Regions from separate parts of the Homo sapiens genome. Here region 2 is linked to region 1. Evidence: promoter capture Hi-C in human tissues and cell types (Jung and others, 2019). All regions are on one chromosome and are shown on one strand. The core of a region is centred on a gene start or on the middle of the fragment in contact, and the rest is flanking DNA. Distances in the headings are between cores, read along the strand shown.

Evidence for each region. The method cuts DNA at HindIII sites, captures the fragments that hold promoters and counts their contacts. A contact is called where the count stands out against the background at its distance.
Region 2: a contact is called between a fragment that was not itself captured here and the fragment with the promoter of TMEM45A in region 1, in 1 of the 25 tissues and cell types used here (pancreas).

Annotation. Positions count from the first base shown.
Region 1 is chr3:100,490,080-100,493,875 of GRCh38, reverse strand. TMEM45A (transmembrane protein 45A) reads right to left here and starts at 1,257. Exons shown (of 6, transcript NM_018004.3): 1 at 948-1,257. RefSeq lists a silencer at 1,240-1,539. The HindIII fragment of the contact is 8,963 bases long and covers 1-3,796 here.
Region 2 is chr3:100,547,469-100,551,479 of GRCh38, reverse strand. All of the region lies in intron 1 of TMEM45A (transmembrane protein 45A), which reads right to left. Among named protein-coding and RNA genes, the nearest start is that of TMEM45A, 57 kb to the right of the region's middle. The HindIII fragment of the contact is 4,559 bases long and covers 1-3,889 here.

The DNA of each region.
Region 1 (3,796 bases), core at 8-2,507:
TCTGTAATCCCAGCTACTTGGGAGGCTGAGTCAGGAGAATCACTTGAACCCGGGAGGCAGAGGTTCCAGTAAGCCGAGATCGTGCCATTGCACTCCAGCCTTGGCGACAAGAGTGAGACTCTGTCTCAAAAACAAACAAACAAACTACAACAACAACAAAATATATAGCGTATATAGAGTATACTATATAGCATACATAGAGCATATACACCATATAGCATAGTGTATACATAGCATGTATATAGTATATATACCATACTATATAGTGCATATATACTATATAGTATATATATACAATTATAAGTTTATGAACACACAAGTGGTCTGTCACATGTTTGTTTGTTTTTAACAATTATAAAGGAATTCAGGTCTCCCACTATGGATAGGAGAATACCGAAAAGATATATATTTGGCTTGCAACTACCTCCAGATTTAAGTGAAAAATCCAGCAACTACCTGCATAACCCAGGTTTTACGTAATTTATATTAGACATCCTATTAACAGAAGCAAACGTGTTAATTCTGAAAAGATCAGATAATTTTCTCAATCTCCCATCAAAACAGTCCCAGAGTTGGGGATAAAAAACGATTTTGGCTTTACAAATACCCACAGTATTTTCACAGAAAGAAAATAGAGAAATAAATTTATCAATAGATTCAATTTTGGAGTTAGAGGTTTACAACAGAATATCAGTCACATTGCTGCTCCCAGGATATTTAAAACTAGCTCACCAAAAAAAAAAAAAAAAAAAAAAGAATAGCAAACCAAAAAAATTAAATTAAAATGTTAGTGAAACGGAAGAGAAGGGAGCGAAGGGTCCAGTTTGTCGCAGCAAGTGTTACTTTTCTCCCCTTGATGAAGAGAAAGCTGGTGAGAACAGTAAAAAGACACAGGATAGAGATCACGGCAAGAGAAATATGATATCCAGCACGTATCCAAAACTTACCCAACTTGGTCTGTTTACTCAACACTTTATTTTTCCCACTTTGCCAGCTTAAAATCAGACAGCGGCTGGGCTTTTGTTGTTGCTGTTTCTGTTCTTTTGATCCCAGAGCCCCATGAAAATTAAACCGTGTGTTGGATGGGATCTGGCCACGTCTCGCATTGGGTGGGGGGAGGAATTTTTAAACTTGGGTCCCTAGTCGCTTCTTTGGGAAAACGAATAAATAATAAGTGGCGAGAAGGAGAGGACGTGGGGGACGTGCTCGGCTGACGTCGGCCCGCGAGGAGGCCGCACAGCTGTCCAGATGTGCTTCATCTGTTCCCCCCGCGGGGCACGGGCCTCGGCGGCCGCGGCTGGCACAAGCCCCAGCTCATTGGTGGCCGCAGCTCTTCACTTGCTGCCGATTGGCCGGGCGGCCCGCCACTCCGGAGGGCCTCGGGCCCGCCCCTCTCTCAGGCCCGCTGGCTGCATCCTAAGGGAATGTGGAAGTGCAGCGCCGTCGCTGATGTGGCACTCGGCGGCTGCGCGGCCGGGACGGCTCGGGGCAGAGAGGGAGGTTGCCTACTCCCAGGTCTTGCCCCTGCCCCGGCCCTGTTATGCCCCTCCTTTTAGACAGACCGCTTTGTTTAAACAGGATGATTTGTAGCCGTTTGGAGGCTGAAAATAAGGCGGATGATTTGTAGCCGTTTGGGGGCTGAAAATAAGACGCGCCTGGTGCTTGGAGTGGAAGAGGCTGGGGCTCCGGGCTGCCCACGCCCCCAAAGGGCGTTCAGGCCACGCCTTGGGATTCCTCTCTCTTCACTTTCTCCAGGGAGCAAATAATAGGGCCCAAGAGCCTGCTCCCTGGGGACGGTATTCTTTCTTTCGGTGGAGGGAAAACCTTAATGAACCCTTCGTTGAAGTCCTTATTAACCAGAATTGAAGTTGTTCCTGCGGAGATGACCAGGACTGGGTATGAGAGTGGTTTGGCAGACCTGCTTGGTTTTTTGTATTGAGTGATGGTCGTTGTAGGGAACCGAGAAATACTGCTTTGTTGTGTGAGAATTGAGAAAGGACTGCGCCAAACGTTGCTTTGAACTTGGGAAAGCAGTTGGAGGGTTAACCAGTTTTTTGATTAGTGAGTTAGAAGGAGAGGAGGAAAGAAGAGATCTGCAAATCAATTGCCATTATAATTTGTGCATATTGACAGAACCGTTCCCTCATTGAAATATTAAGTGGGCAAGAGCCACACTCACTGGGCTGCACGCCAGGGAAGGCACCAGACCCCGCATTAAACAGTTTTTACCTGCATTATCACATTTAATTCTTACAACTACCTTATAAAATAGATATTAAAATAATCTCCAAGACCCAGCACCTATCCCAGCCTACCACAGATGTCTCCAAACATATGTTTGCAGCACTCCATCATAGATACATAAACTCATCTGCAATTTGCCATCCCTGCAGGGGTCAGAATTTATTATGAGTGTCCAAAGCTTTCACTACAATGATAATGTCTTGTTTGTTGGTGTATTTGTCATCTATTGCTGCGCAACAGATTCCCACAAACTTAGTGCTTTGTACAACACATGTATATCACTGCACAGTTTCTGAAGGTTGGAAGTCCAGGCATGGCCAAACTAGATCCTCTGCTTATGCTCTCACAAGGGTGCAATCAAGGTGTCAGCCGGGCTGCATTGTCATCTGCAGGCTCTACTGGAGAAGAATCATTTCCAAGCTTTCTCAGGTCATTGACAGAATTCATTTCTTTGCAGCTCTAGGACTGACTCCCCAGTTTCTTTCTAGATGTGAGCTAGAGGCTGCCCTTAGCTCCGAAAGACTGCTCTTAGGCTCCCAATGGCCATCCACGGTTCTGAAAAGCCAGAGAATAGAGATCACAGGGGCCACCTACAAGTCTGTCTGCCACAATTGGATAGTCAGACACCTCAATTTCAATGGACCTGACTGCAATGTTATCATAACTCTGTAAGACCCCCACAAATGCAGGAGCCTGCTCAGCAAGTAAAGTGGCACTACATGAGTGCAACCACAACACTCCAATCCTTCTGGCAGTCAAGGAAACCCACAAAGGAGCAACATTTGAATGTAGCCCTTGAAAGTAATGTGTCATGTGTTCAGCTTTCTGAATCATTTGTAATCTCACAATGCTGCACTTTTTATCACAGAAGCCGCTCAACAGTGGGCTGATAGTCAAGGTATTGATTAACCCTCCACACTCATTACCATCAACAGGCATCTGATATTGACCAAAAATCACTAAAAAAAAAAAAAAAAAAAAAAAAAAAGAATCCTTCTGCTCTCAGGAAGATGGAGTGGACATCAGTATTCCATTTCTCCTGCTAAGCACAACAAAAAATCCTGGACTTCATATATTTTCCAACATTGGAAACTCCAAGAGGTTGAGAGAAGAAGACAGATGAGCTAGAAATCTCAGAACCCAAGGAATGACATGATGCTGAGTTCCCTGGGCTTGCTTTCTGTTGTTTCTTTGCCCCAAACTTGGAGCTGAAGAAGCCAGCAACCCAAAAATGACAACAGGCACAGACAAAAAAGTCTCAACGAACCCTGCTCTCTCTAGTCAAGGACCAGGAAATGGGAAGCCTAGAAAGACAGAAAAACTTTTAGGCAGTAATGGCTCTACTTCAGCCAAACACCACAGGAAAAACCCTGGCCCCACTCACTCCTACATGAACAGAGGCTGAGTAGAAATCCTAGACTCCCGCCTTTTCCAGGCTGTAACAAGGTGAAGATGCAGAAATCTTTAACAACGTATTACCAAACAGAATTCAGCAATATATAAAAATAATTATACACCACAACATAGTGGAGTTTTTTTCAGGGATGCAAAA
Region 2 (4,011 bases), core at 361-2,860, 57 kb before region 1:
CATTCTCGTTTGAAGGAGACCACGGGGCTTTCCTCGCCCACCAAAGAGAACATGCAAGCAGCCAGCAGCAACCCCAGGGAAAATGCCAGGGCAGGAAACATGAAGGTCCTTCCTCCGTACCCTCCTACCTGATCCTACCACTTACAACCTCCTAAGAAAAGCAGTTCGGCCGGGCGCAGTGGCTCAAGCCTGTAATCCCAGCACTTTGGGAGGCCAACACAGGCGGATCACGAGGTCAGGAGATCGAGACCATCCTGGCTGACACGGCGAAACCCCGTCTCCACTAAAAATACAGAAAAGTCTCTGGGTGTGGTGGTGGGCACCTGTAGTCCCAGCTACTAGGGAGGCTGAGGCAGGAGAATGGCGTGAACCCGGGAGGCGGAGCTTGCAGTCAGCCGAGATCCCGCCACTGCACTCCAGCCTGGGCGACAGAGGGAGACTCCGTCTCAAAAAAAAAAAAAAAAAAAAAGCAGTTCACCCAGGCCTAAAAAGACGGACTGAAAGATTTCATCATTGGTTTCCAGTGTGATTCATCCTAAAAATTCTTCCTCCTCCCCCATCCAAAGAAGCCCTCCACTTCTAATGATACCAAGCATTACCCTCTGGCCTGAAAACCAGAAACCCCTCCTGGTATCCCCATTACCCTACTTTTTGCTGAACACCCCCCGGCGTAAACACAGACTCACTCACCATGCAGAAGGGAAACATTTTAAAACTCTATCCCTTAAGAGATAATATTGGGCAGAGCCCAAGATCTAACTCAGGTGCTAGGTGTTAATTCCCAGATGTTAACAGCCACACAAACCACAGACTAGGTCTATACACAGAAAGGGAAAACAACTCACAATAACCCAGAAAAAGAGATGCAATGGTTTGCTTGGTGGAATTCTAATCGAATAGCTAAATTCAATATAAAATGAATACCATTATGAGAAAAAACTTAAAATTTCATCTTGCGCCACCACCAAAATGAAGTATTCCTAAGTCTTCATTAGTGACTCATACTTCAAAATACATTTGTAAATTCCAATACACTAAACAAATCTGAACAGCTTTGCTCTGTTTGTCTTAATACTCAAATTGTATCCACATACTATGTGGATACAAAAATATGTAGCTTTAAAATTTCATTCTCCATCATTCTGTACCAGCACTTTCTCCTGCAAATTTCATTGGTTTTGAATGAGTCTTCTTAAAGTATCCTTACCTTCACACTTTCCTCAATGTCAAGTCCAACTCAATTCTCTTCTATTAAGGATTTATTTTTTTTTCTTTTTTTTTTTTATTATGCTTTAAGTTTTAGGGTACATGTGCACATTGTGCAGGTTAGTTACATATGTATACATGTGCCATGCTGGTGCGCTGCACCCACTAACTCGTCATCTAGCATTAGGTATATCTCCCAATGCTATCCCTCCCCCCTCCCCCCACCCCACCACAGTCCCCAGAGTGTGTTTATTGTGGCATTATTCACAATAGCAAAGACTTGGAACCAACCCAAATGTCCAACAACGATAGACTGGATTAAGAAAATGTGGCACATATACACCATGGAATACTATGCAGCCATAAAAAATGATGAGTTCATGTCCTTTGTAGGGACATGGATGAAACTGGAAACCATCATTCTCAGTAAACTATCGCAAGAACAAAAAACCAAACACCGCATATTCTCACTCATAGGTGGGAATTGAACAATGAGATCACATGGACACAGGAAGGGGAATATCACACTCTTAAGGATTTATAATGGCTCTAGACTCAAGAGGGAAAAGCAGATGCTGAGTGGCCCTAAATCTAAAACTGCCCACTCTTCCTCCTTTGAGATTAAACCAATGTGCTCCTATCTTTCTAGCATGAGCAGGTAAACCTTCAGACTAGGTTCCAATGCATTTAAACCCAGAGAACACACCCTTTGGAACCTCCAGCCTCCCTGTCCAAACATTGTGCCAGAGGGCAGTTCTGGATGTGACTCACCTTGCCATCCCACCTACCAGGCCACTAGCCTCAGTCATGTGCCACCTGCTCTGAGAACCAAGGCCAGTGAAGGATATTGCCACTCTTGCAGGCCATGGAGACAGACAGAAGACAAAGGGAATGGTTAGAGCAGCAGTAACATAATAGATCGTGTTCTGTAAGGCATAAGAAGATAATCCATTTTCGTTTTGGTTGTTTTTGTTTGTTTGGTTTTGGTGGTTTTTTTGTTTGTTTTTTTGTTTTTTTGTTTTTTTTTGAGACAGGATCTCACTCTGTTGCCCAGGCTGGAGTGCAGTGGGGCAATCTCAGCTCACTGCAACCTCCACCTCCCGGGTTGAAGTGATTCTCCTGCCTCAGCCTCCTGAGTAGCTGGTATTACAGGCGCATGCCACCATACCAGCTAATTTTTGTATTTTTAGTAGACATGGGGTTTTACCATGTTGGCCAGGCTGGTCTCGAACTCCTGACCTCAGGTGATCCGCCCACCTTGGCCTCCCAAAGTGCTGGGATTACAGGCATGAGCCAGCATGCCCGGCCAAAGATAACCCATTTTCTAACACACAGTGCCTCAAGAAAGAGATCGCCACAGGGTTGAAGTCATGGCCAAAACCGAAGTTATAGGAATAAGAAAAATGATGAAAGAAAACTGCTGTAGGTCAACAGTGCAGCGCAAAGCATTTGGGATGCTCTTCTAATCATCACTTGCATTGTACAGGGACACTTCAGGCGCTTGAGGCACCCACTGCAGAATAGACACAGCCCCTGCTCACAACAGAAAGCTTATGATAGACTGAACAAACCACAAAAAACAGAAATGCTAAAATATGTCCCTAAGGAACAAACTAATTACAAGTTCTATGGAGGTGTTAAGATGACTGGCATGTGTAAGACGGGGAGAGGACTTTGTCTAAGAAGGTGCCTGATGGAGGAGATCGTTCTAAAGTAGTGCTGTAGAGGAGGAGCCCGCAGTGACCAGGGGACAGTGGAAAGGAAGCTTCTCAACAGTGGAAAGCAGTTAGGTGAAATCAAGAAAGAAGTGAGAGCTCTGGTCTGCAAGAGAGCTTCTCGTTCACTCTCAGCTTAGCAAGCCCAGCCTTCCAAATAAGAGGATGAGTGTCTCTTCTTTTTGCAGATGATAGTGCCAAGACACAGGAATGCTATTTGAATGAGCATGTGGAGACAAACAGAGTAGCATCAAGATACTGAGATTTAAATCCAACTTCCCCATCTCTGTACTCCAGAGGCCATTTGTCTCTTGTCAGTGTCATAAGCCCGGATGTGTTCATTCATATTAGGCTTAGCATGTGACCAGAGATGAGTGTCTCAGCAGCTGCTCCCAAAGCCAGAATGATAATAAAGCTCTGTCAGAAGAAAATAACCACTCTAGAGTGCTATTACCTTATTTATTTTATCTTATTTTGATCTCTCCTGTACCTCTGCCTATTGTTCCCACTACCAACCCCTCTCAATGTTTAAATAACTAAAACCATCCACGGAACATCAGCTATTCTTAACCAAACATCTAAAATGACAAGAACCCTAAACTTGGAAATATAAGAAAGGATGAGGCAATCCAAAAACTTATGTCTTTAAAAATAAAACACAAAAACAAAAACTAAGAACAAATGTCATATGGCATCACCTGCTTGTAACTAACTCTTCAAAGTAAATAGAAGTCTGGATTGTTTGTCAGTAGTGATGCACCTGTGATGGGAAGGAAGGCACTCATTGAACACCTATTGTATACTAATAACTTTACATACATACATCTGTTTATCATTAAAACAACTCAAGGAAATACAGTTGACCCATGAACAATATGGGCTTGAACTGGGTTGGTTCACTTATACATGGGTTTTCTTCTGCCTCTGCCACCCCCAAGTCAGCAAGAAAGATCAACCCCTCCTTTTCCTCCTCCTCCTCCTCCTCCTCAGCCTATTCAACATAAAGATGATAAGGATGAAGACCTTTATGATGATCCACTTCCACTTAATGAATAGTAAATATATTTTATCTTCCTTATGATTTTCTTCA